Regions from separate parts of the Homo sapiens genome. Here region 2 is linked to region 1. The links are contacts of gene promoters, found by promoter capture Hi-C in blood cells and fetal thymus (Javierre and others, 2016). All regions are on one chromosome and are shown on one strand. The core of a region is centred on a gene start or on the middle of the fragment in contact, and the rest is flanking DNA. Distances in the headings are between cores, read along the strand shown.

Region 1 (7,645 bases), core at 3,703-6,202:
ATGAACTTGAGCCAGGGGGCTGCAACAGTAACTACAAAGTTCCAGTTGACAGAAGTAAGTGAAACCAAAACAGTCCTCAGATCTTTTCTCTAAGCCTGTCTGAAATCCAGCCATGCTAAGAGCTTAGGACTATCAATTGTCCATTTGCTGAGATTACTTTCCAACATACCCCGGTTCATTCTTAGGTACTTAAACATTTGTTTATTTAGTTACGTTATTTTGACTGAAACTTCACACAATTTTTTTTTGGCACCAAGATCCTTGTTCCACAGAATCAGTCAATGCCAGAGATGTCTGATGAAATCTAAAAATGTCAGCACTCAGAAAAATGTTCAAACCTCCTTCTATTGCTGATATCTCAGACACTATGATGTGTCACAATGCAGATATAATGTAATATAAAACTTCTAAATACAATTTCAGCTTTGAGTCTGCAGTACTCAGGTACAGATTCCGTGTGCAATAGATTTACTTTCTTCCTAGATTTTTGTCTTATCTGTTCCCAGAAAATCAGTCATTTATCTAGACAAAGACCCATGATAGATTATTTTCTCCTTCACTTGATTCCATTCTTGCCCCATAACTTATCAATTTTTATTTTTTAAAATGTCTCAAGTTTCAGTTTTTAAGAAACCAATAGTGTCATACTAATATGTTTCAAAAACAAAATAATAAATTAACTATCATTGGATGTCATACTAACTTTTCAAAGCTGATTTTATTATGGGACATTCTAGAGTGAATCTGTGCCCACTTACCAGAATTGTTTTAAGTGTATCTTTTGGGACCTGAAAACTCAGATATTTCAGCTCTCCAGGTGTGCTCATGAAGTAAAACACCTATGCTTGGAGTTCAAACATTTTTTAAAGACATGTTAAATTGATTCCTATATTAGTTCGTTCTCATACCCCAGACTGGGTAATTTATAAAGGAAAGAGGATTAATGAACTCACAGTTCCACATGGCTGGAGAAGCGTCACAATCATGGCGGAAAGCAATGGAAGAGGAAAGGCACATCTTACATGGTGGCAGGCAAGAGCGCTTATGCAGGGAAACTCCCATTTATAAAACCATCAGATCACGTGAGACTTATTCACCACCATGAGAACAGTATGGGGGAAACAGCCCCCATGATTCAATTATCTCCACCCAGCCCTGCCCTTGACACATGGGGATTATTACAATTCAAGGTGAGATTTGGGTGGGGACACAGCCAAACTATATCCGCTCCCTACCTTTTCAACAGCTTGAAGTCATTAATGGTAAAGTTGTGATACATTTGGTTCATGTGACATCATCTTTTAAAAATCCTAATAGGATTAGAACAAATTCATTTTTAGTCTAAACTTCTTTAGAAATAAGACGTTTTCTGATTATACTTAATTTTAAGAGGAAATGTACATTCATAACAAATTATTATTATCCTTTTCAAGACCTGCATTATATTTAATGCCTTTTAAAAATGTGTAACCCCATCTCTGTGTTTATAAAAGAATAAAATTACTTCAGTTCCACTCCTAGGTCACTCCTATCTGAGTTGGTTTGGAAGGTGGCGGTTATGTGGGACATGGGGCCCTTCTGACTGCTTGCTGCTCTCTGTGATATGCCCTGCTCTCAATAGCACCCAGAAGTTTTACCTGCCTTTCAGTTTACATCAGTTTACATGTGAAACTGATATGAAAATGGCCCTTTGAAACAAGAGATGTGGGAGTAGCCTTAAATTATTCAGGATCTTTATTATTAATGAATGTGCTTCTGTGAGCCCTTAAAAATAGTGCAGCCTCAAAGATTACTGTTTTGCATGCAATTGCTAGACAACCAGAACAAGAAATCAACTCTACACAGGAATGCTACATCTGGAAACCTGATTTTACTCAGCTTCTGTCTTCTAGAACTGCTGAGTCATTTTTACGGAGGTTCCACTAGAATGCTTCTCTGCGGAAACTAAGAAAGGTAAGGACTTGGTGTAGAGGCAGATAGATCATATCTTCAGCTATCCTGTTGACTGGCCGGGAGGCTGGACCCTTCCAGGCCTACCTAGGAACTTCAGGAATTTCTACACCAAGAAGAGTTCTAAACTGATTTCCCATGCTACAACTTTTCTAAAAAATCTTATTTGAATATATATGGAAACTTGCTAGGTTTTGGGAAGTCTTAGATTACCACTATTATTATTATTATTATTATTATTATTATTGAGGCAGAGTCTTGCTCTGTCACCTAAGCTGGAGTGCAGTGTCACATCTTGGCTCACTGCAACCTCTGCCTCCAGCTTCAAGCAACTCTTTTGCCTCAGCCTCCCGAGTAACTGGGATTAGAGACACCCACCACCACGCCTGGCTAATGTTTGCATTTTTAGTAGAGATGGGGTTTCATCATGTTGGCCAGGCTGGTCTCAAACTCCTGACTTCAGGTGATCTGCCTCCTTCAGCCTCCCAAAGTGCTGGATTAGAGGCGTGAGAGCCACTGTGCCTGGCCACTGTTATATTTTTAAAGAATGAATGTAATCAGATTTTTCTTTAATTTTGCTTTCTGTAAAATGTTATTTATCTGCCCAAATAACTTGTGCTCTAATTCATTCATTCATTAGAAGGAGGGTAAAGTATTATTTAAATGTAATTATCATATAACTTTTTAAAAACAGTTTTAAACTACCCATGATAACACAGGTAGTTATGTACCCATGTTACATCTTTTTCTGAGAACTAATAAGGCTTTTCTTACACCACAACCCATTCTTTTTGCTGAAAATGAATATATATGTGTATATATATAGTATATTAGACACACACAGAGACTTCAAAAGTTCATGGAAAAATGGAATTAAAAGATAAAAATAAAAACAAATTTATTTATCAGCATAAGCCTTATCAAGTTCAAGACACTTTTGTAAGTGATAATACCAGCCATTTAGTCCATCCTTAAAGAACCGAGGATCCTGAGAATTTAACCATGTCAGTGCAGTCCTTTTGACATTATTAACTGAAGAAAACTAGGTGCCCTTTGAAGATTTTTTAAGATTAGGAAACAAAAAGAAAAGAGAAGGAGCCAAATCAGAATTGTAAAGTGGATACCTAATGATTTCTCTTCAAATCACTTGCAAAATTGTCCTTATGTGATGAGAAGAATGAGCAGAAGCAGTGTCATGGAGGACTCGCTGGTGATGCTGTCCTGGGTGTTTTTCTGCTAATGCTTTGGCTAACTTTCTCAAAATGCTCTCATGATAAGCAGATATTATTGTTCTTTTGGCCCGTCAACAAGCAAAATACCTGGAACATCCTAAAAACTGTTGCCAGAACCTTTTCTCTTGATAGGTCTGCTTTTGCTTTGACTGGACCACTTCCATCTCTTGGTAGCCGTTGCTTTGATTGTACTTTGTCTTCAGGATTATACTGGCAAAGTCATGTTTCATCTCTTGTTACAATTCTGCAAAGAAAGGCTTCAGAATCTTGGTCCCACATGTTTAAAATTTCCATTGACCCTGCTCTTGTCTGCAGCTGATCTACGTGCAATGGTTTTGGCACCCTTCTGGTAGAAAGCTAGCGCAACTTCAATTTTTCAGTTAGAATTGTGTAAGCTCAATCAGTTGAGCTATCTATGGAGTTGGCTATTGTTTCTTCTGTTAATTGTCCTCTTAAATTACAGCATTCACATTTCTTTAAAGAAAAAACTTCATTTTTTTCTTGCAAACTGATGTGGATGGTCCACTGCTGTGGGTTTCATCTTTCACATCCTCTCATCCCTTCTCAAAATGAGTTATCTCTCTGTGAACTACTGATTTCTTTTTTCCTTTCTTTTTTTAAAATTTAATTTTATTTTAAGTACTGGGATACATGCGTAGGACGTGCAGGTTTGTTACACAGGTAAACATGTGCCATGGTGGTTTGCTGCACCTATCAGCCCATCACCTGGGTATTAAGCCCTACATGCATTAGCTATTTATTCTGATGCTCTTCCTCTTCCTGCACCTCCAACAGGCCCCAGTGTGTGTAGTTCCCCTCCCTGCATCCATGTGTTCTCATTGTTCAGCTCCCACTTATAAGTGAAAACATGCAGTCTTTGGTTTTCTGTTCCTGTATTAGTATGCTGAGGATAATGGCTTCCAGCTCCACCCATGTCCCTGCAAAGGATATGATCTTGTTCCTTTATATGGCTGCATAGTATTCCATGGTGTAAACTATTGATTTATTTGGGGCATTGTCCCCATAAACTTTTTGTAAAGCATCAATGATTTTACTATTTTACCACCCAAGTTTTACCATAAATTTGACGTTTGTTCTTGCTTCCATTTTAGCAGAATTCATGTTGCTCTCAAGAGCTATTTTCAGACTGATATCTTATCCTTCTTAATGCTTCAAACTAAATCCTGTTCAGACATGCTTCAACAATCTAGTGTGAGTTTATTTTGGTACAAAAAAATTTTGAAATCCTTGCCTATTTTTTTTCAGAATATACATTTTCCACAAACCTCTTGTGTGTGTGTTGTTTGAACAATAGTTGCAACATGAAACAATTAACAAAGGTAGCTAATTGACTACTCTTTTAAAAATTAATTATTAACAGAATCCTATGTATACATATACATACATGTATGTATATATGCATATATATGACAAGTTGATAGCTTTTGTTAGAAATTTAATATGTAGAATGATTTAGCATAGTATTATTAGAAATTTAAGTATTGAGAGTTTCAAATTTTGTTCTTAAAGTTCAAGTAAATTGATATCATCTTAAAGTAAGAATACAGTCCACTCTTAAAATTACAATGCCTCAAAGCCTCTAAGTCATCATGGTATTAGTTTCAGGAGCTGTTCTCAGTTTTCTGAGAAGCGTGGTCAGTATCAGGAGCCTCTGCTTCTATGTTTCTCCCTGTTTTCTTCCTCCCAAGATATTTCAGTCACCTTGAACACCTTGCAGTCACTTTCCACAGGTAAAATGATTTGTTTAGTTGCCTTTTTGTTCCCCTGTCCTCATTCCTCTGCTGCAAAACCTTCTGCTTAAAATACTGGTTCATTTCTAGTTACAGGGACCCACTTGCCATCTGTCATTCCAGGAAATTTGTGAAATGGATCCAGATAAACAAGGTGAGTATTATTGTCAAGTTTCTGAGCATAGTTTGTAAACAGAAAAATTAGGCACAGATGTTATATTTTCAGACCTCTGATTTGAAGAAGAGTAAACATTTGGCAAATTTCTGGCTGAAAAAGAAACTGTTATTTGATTAAAGTGGCTTTCTCTCTCTTCTAAACAGAAATCCACCATGTACTGAAGAGTATCTGGTCTATTGTCTCGAAAGCACCAAAAATAATCTAACAAAAGACTTGATGTCAACATAATTACATTTGAATTGCTATTCAAATACACAGAAACTATTACCTTAGTTTTATGTATATTCATAGTTTACTATTAAAATGAAATTATCGTATATATTTTAATGTCATAGGTAAGTTCACAGTACTGTGTAGTTCAAGTTGGGAGAAAGGTCTCACAGTTGTCACTATATGAAAATTTTATAAGTGGATATGGAGAAACTAGTTCCCCTTTCTTCTAACATCGCTGAATGCCAAGTTAGGCCCAGAACTGATCTGTGGGATTTCTATTGCTAGATCTGTTTGGAGCCTTACTCCCCTAACCAAAATCTACATTGTTATCTTACTTGTTTTATATGAAATTCTGTATGATCCCTAGTTGTTTATCTAAAACAACATTATAAATGATTACAATACCTTTGGGTTTTCCAAATTTGGGCTCTCATATTAATACGCTTTACACAAAGCAGTAGGTAATCCATTCAACTCTCAATTTTCTTCTTTCTCAATTTTCTAAGGCAGTGTGTCTCAAAATTAGCATGCATCAGAATCACCTGAAAGGTTTGTTAATATGCTGCAAAGTTTGTGATTCCGTGGGTCTGGGAAGAGTCCAGGAATGTACATTTCTAACAGGTTCCCAGGTGACATGATGCTGCTGGCTTGGGACCACACTGTGAGGACCACTGGCCTACAGCATCTATTTTGGATCATTGAACTAGATGATGGACATTTGAAAGAATTGTATTATATCCACCTTAGTATCTGTGGAAAATAAATATACTGATGTAGCTGAGCAAAAACAAGAATCCTGGTCAAAAGATATTTCCCAATCATTTTGCTTCCATGAAGAAGAACACATGTAGCTTGTGTTACTATTTCTTTAAGCATCTAAAACTGCTTTGTTCATAGCTTTGGGCGTGATACATTTGGTAGTTTCTTCCTTTCTTGAGTTTGTTTTGTGTGTGTGTGTGTGTGTGTGTGTGTGTGTGTGTTTGCATCGGCAGAAAAAAAATGTAAAAGTTAGCCTTGAGGAAGTGGGTCTGGTGTTGGCTCACCTGGGCTCCTCATTCATTTTCCATGTTGCACTGTATCACAGCTTGCCGTGTTATGCTGCCTAACTTCATCAGATGACGCTGTAAAGCATAACTTGACAGGAGAGTGATGGCCAGATGGTAGAGCAGCTACAGAGTCGCTCCTCTACCAAGAGCAGCATCTGGGAACTTGCAGAGCCCCTTGTCTGCTGATTCTGTGTATCTGCTTGGTGCATCTGAGAGGAACCAGGGCACAAACATTGGCCAATTTCCAGAGGAAAGAAATGTTGGGCATTACACTATTGTAAATTATTTCCACCCTATTATGCCTACTCTCAATTTTTTTTTTCTCCAAACATAGGACAGAGGAGTTTCTGACATCTCCCATTCTCTAACATTGGCATCTTATCTGAAAACTAAGCATTTTTAAAGCCTAAGGAAATGATGAATAACAAAAGATTTAGAGCAAATTGTAGTTATATATATGTTTGTACCTCTTGAAAAAGAAAGGAAAACATGTAGACGGTTTTTAAACAACCTCTCTTGTTTGGGCGACAATGTTTAGGCACAGTCCACTTCACCTGAGGTAGATGTCTTTAATCCATGATCATATGCTGACTGTTGGATGGATATACATTCAGAGAGAGGCCTGTGGCATGTTCTCACTACTTTGGGATGGCTCTGGCCTGGGGTGGCTCTGGCCTGGTTCAGCACTCTAATCCCCTCTGTGGCTCCACACAGTGCCTGGCACTCAGTATCTTATGTGTAACAGCTAGTACTTTACCCCACAACACTCAAGGGCAAGAAACATCATTTCCTAAATCAAAATCAAGGCACTGTACCTTGATATGAAATTTAGGCTGAGTTCACTTTCTTTCTTTCTTTTTCTTTTGTTTTTTGTTTGTTTGTTTGTTTTTTGAGATGGAGTCTCGCTCTGCCACCAGGCTGGAGTGCAGTAGCGCGATCTTGGCTCACTGCAACCTCCAACTCCCTGGTTCAAGCGATTCTTCTGCCTCAGCCTCCCAAGTAGCTGAGATTACAGGCACGCACCACCACACCCAGCTAATTTTTGTATTTTTAGTAGAGGCGGGGTTTCACCATGTTGGCCAGGATGGTCTTTATCTCCTGACCTCGTTATCCACCTGCCTTGGCCTCCCAAAGTGCTGGGATTACAGGCGTGAGCCACCGCACCCGGCCACCACAGCCACTTTCTAAACTGATACTTGTTCCAACTTGCCTACAGCCCCCTTGAACTCCTATGGTTCTCTAACCTCCTCTCTGCCTTCCTAGCCCCAAGAACTT
Region 2 (7,645 bases), core at 2,113-4,612, 1.4 Mb before region 1:
AACACATATTTATTGAAGAATGGTGTCAGGCACTCGGAGGCAAACAGAGTCCCTGCCCTCATGCAGACTACAGCCTATGCAGAAAGGGAGGAGACAGACGTCAATCAAATAGTCATACGAACACACATATCAGAGATGGTGAGAGAAAGGGGGGATGCTGAGAGGCCTCTCTCAGACCTAAAGGGTGAGTAGGCTTTGGCAGAAGAGGATATTATAAAGGGAACAGTGGTCTGGTGGCTTTTAAACGTTAGGCTTAATTCGTCCAGTAGAGGGCGACCACAGCCAGGCATTTGTGGCAATTCCTACTGCATCAGGAAAGCTGAAGGCTGAAGGTTTGCTTATCATCATCTCTCACTGAGTGTTGAAGGAGCACAAACTACTCACCAGAAACTAAGAATCCAAGTGTAAATTTACAGACGTCAATGTTGCTGTCTACCATTGCCCAACAGTTTGATGCAGATTCCTACCAAATGCCTACTGACCTTAATAAAGAAAAAAGAAAAAAAGTTAATAAGGCACAATTAAAGGAATCAAAATAAAAGCCCTTTTCTTGATTTGCACACATCCTCAAAGAGCTGCCTCAAGCACAGATACATACACATGTGACGTTTTCTTATTTATTAGTACTCCCCTCCACACAAACACACAAGTGCCTCATATCTGCTGTACCCCACATCCTCTACGGAAAGCATGCTACTGTGGATCTACCTCATGGATTATTGGTTTTATTCAGGCAGCTGATGAACAAATATAATTTTATATGTTGCCTATAGACATAAGGCAAAACAATCAATAATTTCCCACATCCCATTAAATGATTAGGGATGTAATCAGGATTAAAAACCAAGATATTTCCAGCGTACTTAAGGATAGATTTCTTTAACATCTACTATATATCAGCACTAGCGAGACTCTAAGTCATGTCACTTCCTTCCTTTAAAATTAATTCCCACTGCAGGCTGGGTACAGTGGCTCATACCTGTAATCCCAGCACTTTGGGAGGCCAAGGTGGGTAGATCACCTGAGGTCAGGAGTTTGAGACCAGCCTGGCCATTATGATGAAACCTCATCTATACTACAACTACAAAAATTAGCCAGGCATGGTGGCACACGCCTGTAATCCCAACTATGCAGGAGGCTGAGGCATGAGAATCACTTGAACCCAAGAGGCAGAAGTTGCAGTGAGCTGAGATCATGCCACTGCACTCCACCCTGGGTGATAGAGTGAGACTCAGTCAAAAAAAAGAAAAAAATCCCAATGCAATTAAAAATTTTCAGTTTTTTAAAAAATGAAAGCAATTCTCTGACAGGTAAAGGCCTGTGTGGTCTAGCCATTATCTATTATCCCAGACTAATCTCCTTTCCTTCTCATTATGTTTCAGACTTTCTTGTTTCCATGAAATTGCCATTTTCCATTTGCTGTTTCCCTTGCCTGAAACATTCTGCTTCCATCATCTAACTGGAGGCTTCTTATCATTCAAGTTCCAAATTGTTGCTTCCTAGGAAAAGACCTCTTTGACCACTCATTCCTGTCTGCCCTTCCCAACATGCAAAACAGAACCCTGATCTTTGGCTGGAAATGTTTTGGGTTTTGTTTGTTTGTTTGTTTGTTTGTTTGTTTGATGGAGACAGAGTCTCTCTCTGTCGCCCAGGCTGGAGTGCAGTGGCATGATCTCAGCTCACTGCAACCTACGCCTTCCGGGTTCAAGCAATTTTCATGCCTCAACCTCCCGAGTAGCTGGGATTACAGGCATGCGCCACCATACCCAGCTAATTTTTGTATTTTTTGTAGAAACGGGGCTTCACCATGTTGGCCAGGGTGATCTCGAACTCGTGGTCTCAGGTGATCCACCTGCCTTGGCCTTCTAAAGTGCTGGGATTACAGGTGTGAGCCACTGCGCGCGGCCTAGCTGGAAACTTTCCTGCCCAGTATATCAGTCATATTTCTCAGCCTCACTAGCAGCAGGATGTGGCCATGTTTCTGGCTAATGGGATGTAAACGGATATGTTCAGTGGGACTTCCTAGAAGCTTCCTTAAAGGGAAGCAGACAGGCCAGAGGAGGTGCCTCATGACTAGAATCCCAGCACTTTGGGAGGCTGAGCTGGGAGGATCACTTGAGGCCAGGAGTTTGAGACCAGCCTGGGCAACATAGTAAGACACCATCTTTACAAAATATAAATTTTTTCTTTTTTTTTTTTTGAGATGAAGTCTCGTTCTGTCGCCCAGGCTGGAGTGCAGTGGCACGATCTCAGCTCACTGCAAGCCCCACCTCCCGGGTTCACGCCATTCCCCTGCCTGAGCCTCCTGAGTTGCTGGGATTATAGGTGTGCACCACCATGCCCAGCTAATTTTTTTTGTATTTTTAGTAGAGACGGGGTTTCACCGTGTTAGCCAGGATGGTCTCAATCTCCTGACCTCGTGATCCACCCGCCTTGGTCTCTCAAAGTGCTGGGATTATAAGCGTGAGCCACCGCGCCCAGCCTGTTTTCGTTTTTTGTTTTTTTTTTCTTATTAGCCAAGTGTAGTGGTTCATGCCTGTAGTCCCAGCTACTCGGGAGGCCGAGGTTGGAGGATGGCTTGAGCCCAGGAGTTCAAGGATACAGTGAGTGAGCTATGATTGCCTCACTGCACTCCAGCCTGGGCAACAGAGTGAGAACTCATCTCAAAAAAAAAAAAAGTGGAGAGAAAAAAGGGGGAAGCAAACAGCTCTTCTTCCTATTTTCCCCTCTCCTGCTATCTGGAATGCAGATGTGATCACTGGAGCTCCTGAAAACACCTTGGATGCTGAGATGGCAGTGAGGATGGGAGGAAGAGCAGGTAGGGGCCTGGCTAATGGCACTGTGGGATAGGGGTGGAGTGTGCAATACCAGCCTCTAGATAACTTTGACGTGAAAAAAAAAAAAGTTTCTATCTAATTTAATACACTGTTATTTGCAGCTTGACTGTTACATGCCGCTAAACCTCAATACTAACTAAAAATATCACAGCCATCCCCAGACACATCACCTTATTTCTTCAGTGTCATTTCATTATTGGAAATACCTGGATCATTGTGTTTATCTGAGAGTAGGGATCTGGCCTGTCTTGTTCATTGCTGCATCCCCAGCATCTGCTGCAATGTGATGTTTCCATGCCTTCCCAGAATTTCAAGAAATAAATTGTAATGATCTTCATGGAAATGTTACTGGTCAGGAATTCCATCGATATCAACAGCTAGTGATGGTGCAGCAGTAACGAAAAAATTTGGAAAGTTTTCAGCAAATGTGTTCCTTCTTGCTGTAACAAAAGTGTTTTACTCAAAAACTGGAGGTTACAGCATCAGAAACAACTGGCAGAGGAGGTGAACACAGTGTAGTCTGTCTATGACACAGATGAAAGCAATTACTCTGATTCAGATGATGTGGCTGGAGCCAGTCAGTATAATCCACAAGGTCGTGTCTTTCTGGCAATTTTTAGAAAAAGGAAAGTTGTAAAACTGTTTACATTTTCTCCAATAAGAAATTCTCTCTTGCATAAAGAAAGAAAAAAAACACAGGCCGGGCACAGCAGCTCACACCTGTAATCCCAGCACTTTGGGAGGCCAAGATGGAAGGATAACTTGAGCTCAGAAATTTGAGACCAGCCTGGGCAGCATAGCGAGCCCCTGTCTCTGCTAAAAATAAAAAAATAGCTGAGTGTAGTGGTGCACACCTGTAGTCCCAGCTACTCAAGAGGCTGAGCCAGAAGGATCACTTGAGCCCAGGTGTTAAGGCTTGCAGTGAGCTATGATCGTGCCACTGCACTCCAGCCTGGGTAACACAGTAAGACCTTGTCTTAAAAAAAGAAGAAAGGGGGCCAGGCACGGTGGCTCATGCCTGTAATCCCAGCACTTTGGGAGGCCAAGGCGGGCAGATTACCTGAGGTCAGGAGTTCGAGATCAGCCTGACCAACATGGTGAAACCCTGTCTTTACTAAAAATACAAAAATTAGCTGGGCATGGTGGTGGATGCCTGTAATCCCAGCTACTTGGGAGGCTGAGGCAGGAGAATTGCTTGAGCCCAGGAGGCGGAGTTTGCAATGAGCTGAGATCACGCCATTGCACTCCAGCCTGGGCGACAAGAGTGAGACTCTGTCTAAAAAAAAAAAAAAAGGAAGGGAGGAAGTAGGGGGGGCAGGAAGAAAGGAGAGAGAAAATGGAATATTGTCAAATTGTGAGAGAGACAATAACTTGCTTAAAACTTGTTTGATTAGTAGTTGAAGCATTAAGTAATCATGATGCAAATCTTCTAATCGAAAACAGACTTGTGCTTTGAGTAGTATGCTTTTAAAAGAAGTTAGAATTGAATTATTTAATGCAGAAAAAAGATCTCATATTTCTCATTAAAATATTTCAGCAGTTAGTTTATATGAGGTTGACAACTCTTTTTGCTTCAGCAAACAAAAATGAAATGGCTCAATTAGCAAAATCATTAAGGAAAGACTTTTGTGGAGGAAAATATGCTTTATCAGAAGCAATGCAAAGAAGAGTGAATATTGTTGGGAACTATTCCATCACGAAGTCAGAAACATCTAAAATCTGAATTAGCGAAAATAACATAGACTTCAAGGAAAAAAATCAAAACCAGTGAAAGAAGACAATTATTTTCATCATTAAGAAAAGTGAATGAGTTTATAATAACCAACACGTACCCTAATGCTCAATTCGAAGAAGCTTGTAGACACATTCTTAGTAATAATAAATTAACATTAACAGAGGATGAAAAAACATTCTACACCTGGAATATTTGTCAGGAAACAAGGACCAAGACATTCAGGGCAATTCATGCTTTATGTGTTTTTCAATTTCATTTTAAGAATAACTTTTGGCCGGGCGCAATGGCCCACGCCTGTAATCCCAGCTCTTTGAGAAGCCAAGGCGGGCAGATCATGAGTTCAGGAGTTTGAGACCAGCCTGGGCAGCATGGTGAAACCCTGTCTCTACTAAAAATACAAAAATTAGCCGGGCGCAGTGGCATGAGCCTGTAATCTCAGCTATTCGGGAGGCTGAGGTAGGAGAATTGCTTGAACCTGGGAGGCGGAGGTTGCAGTAAGCCGAGATTGCACCACTGCACTCCAACCTGGGTGACAGAGCAAGACTCCGTCTCCAAAAAAGAATAACTTTTAAAATGTAAATGTTTGCAGTATTATCTTTCAATTGTTTGAATCATTTTATTTGGCATTATTGTGTGTTAATGTTCCCTTCTTTTAATATATTCTATTGTCTAACTCAGGTAGAAATTATTTTTATGGGTCATTGAAATGTAGTGTAATCTTGTCTCAATATATATGTCCATAATAATAATAAACCATATAACCCATGCATTTATTATCACTGTCTGGGGGGATTTCTTGTTTGTTTTGGTTGCAGAAAGCTTTAGAAACTTTTTGTATAATCCCATCACAGAAAAATGGTCCGCTATTTACTAGTGTAGTCAGTCATTGTTTTTAAAAACATACCAAGAAGATGTTATGGGGAAATGTAGATAACTTATGATTTTGAGGATCACCAAGAATTCTCAAGAATTCTAGTTTTTTGTTCCAGAATCCTGCAGATTAATAACTCTTAGAAATTATCAAACACTAGTACAGTGCCTGGGATAGAGTAGACATCAGCATATATTTAGAATGAATGGGTATTATTTTGTTTAATAGTCACAGCAATCCTGTCAAGAAGATGCAAATGTGCCCATTTTACTCATTAGAAATACCTGGATCTCCTTTGAGGTTCCTGTGAGACAACACCTTTAGGAGTCTTAAAAGTTCTATTGTTTACTGAGATGGTCTATGAGGCACATCCTTGAGATTCTTAGACATACTACTAGGCCTGCCCTTAAATTTTTCTGACAAAGCATCTTATTCTGGATTTGATCTTAGGCCCTAGAGATATTTATTATTTGGGAATCTTTTAATGGAAAAGACCAGGGATAAGCAACAGTTTTATTTTATAACCCAATATTTGTACTTTTCCATTTTTGCTAAGAACTTGAACAATTTTTCTTTTTTCTTTCTTTTTTTCTTTTTTTTTTTTTTTTTTGAGACAGAGTCTCACCCTGTCGCCCAGGCTGGAGTGCAGTGGCGTGATCTCAGTTCACTGCAACCTCCGCCTCCCGGGTTCAAGTGATTCTACTGCCTCAGCCTCCCAAGTAGCTGGATTTACAGGCGTGCACCACCACACCCTGCTAATTTTTTATATTTTTAGTAGAGACAGGGTTTCACCACATTGGCCAGGCTGGTCTTGAACTCCTGATCTCGTGATCCTCCTGCCTCGGCCTCCCAAAGTGCTGGGATTAGAGGCATGAGCCACTGCACCGAGCCCACAATTTTTCTTTAGATCATCTCTCCTGTCTCATATTTTGTCATAGGCAACTGAAAAAAGCCAGTTGGCACCTTCTACATTCTGCTTGGACATCTCTCTAGCCAACCCCACAAGCTGTTAAGCACTCTTTCTGTTTTCCACGTTCCCATAGGCGACAGTGTCCTCACACTTTCTGTCGCTACATAAAGAGTCCTCTGTTTTCCAGCCCCTATAAATACTTTGCTCAGTCTTTCACACCCTCACCCATAGTCTCCTCCTGGCTTTTTCTGCTTCTCCCTGACACTCTGTCCCAAAGCCAGTGCCATATGGTTTGGGTATTCGTTATGATAGCACCCCACTTCCAAGTACCAAATTCTGCCCAAGTATCTATTATTACTGCACAATACTGTAGTGGCTTGAAACAACCATTTATCATGACTATCTTCAAACAGGGCACAGCAAGGGACAGCTCATTTCTGCTCCAGAATGCCTGAGGCCTCAGCTGCAAGACTGGAATAGCGGGGGGACCAGAACAACCAGGGGTTGGCTGGGCATCTGTTTCTCTTTCTCCCTCTGTCTGTCTGTCCCTCCCCACCCGCCTTTCCACAGTTTCTTCCTGCAGCCACCTTAGGCTTCCTTATTCGATGGCAGCCTCTGGGTAGTCAGACTCTCACAGGGAAGCTCGGGGCTCCAATCAATGTCCTAAGAGACAGGAAATGGAAGCTGCCAGTCTCTTAAAGCCAAGCTTGGAAACCAGTACAGTGCCACTCCCCGGATATTCTACTGGTCAAAGCAGTCAGACTCGAGGGGAGGAGACATAGGTCCCATTTCTCAATGGGAGCAGTGTCAAAGAAGGTATAGTTGTCTTTCACCTATTATTATTCACCTATTTTACTATGGTTATAATAATATGGTAAAATAATATGGTAAAGCTTTGTGATAACAAAGATTATAAAACTTTATTATTATTATTATTATTATTATTATTATTATTATTATTACTGAGAGGGAGTCTCACTTTGTTGCCCAGGGTGGAGTGCAGTGGCACGATCTCAGCTCACTGCAACCTCTGCTACCCAGGTTCAAGCGATTCTCCTGCCTCAGCCTCCCAAGTAGCTGGGATTACAGGCACCTGCCACTGTGCCTGACTAATTATTGTAGTTTTAGTAGAGACGGGGTTTCACCATCTTGGCCAGGCTGGTTTTGAATTTCTGACCTTGTGATCCACCCGCCTCAGCCTCCCAAAGTGCTGGGATTACAGAGGTGAGCCACCATGCCTAGCCAAAACATTATTATTATTATTATTATTATTATTATTATTATTATTGAGA

The links. The method cuts DNA at HindIII sites, captures the fragments that hold promoters and counts their contacts. A CHiCAGO score of 5 or more calls a contact.
Region 2: a contact is called between a fragment that was not itself captured here and the fragment with the promoter of DYTN in region 1, in 5 of 17 cell types (activated CD4 T cells, naive B cells, total B cells and 2 more). The highest score is 8.7, in activated CD4 T cells.

What each region holds. Positions count from the first base shown.
Region 1 is chr2:206,715,703-206,723,347 of GRCh38, reverse strand. DYTN (dystrotelin) reads left to right here and starts at 4,952. Exons shown (of 12, transcript NM_001093730.1): 1 at 4,952-5,087. The coding sequence starts at 5,069. The HindIII fragment of the contact is 17,717 bases long and covers 1-7,645 here.
Region 2 is chr2:208,065,100-208,072,744 of GRCh38, reverse strand. It overlaps LOC105373854 (a long non-coding RNA gene), which reads right to left. Exons shown (of 4, transcript XR_923815.3): 2 at 3,044-3,214; 3 at 385-482. Among named protein-coding and RNA genes, the nearest start is that of PLEKHM3, 43 kb to the right of the region's middle. The HindIII fragment of the contact is 2,662 bases long and covers 2,032-4,693 here.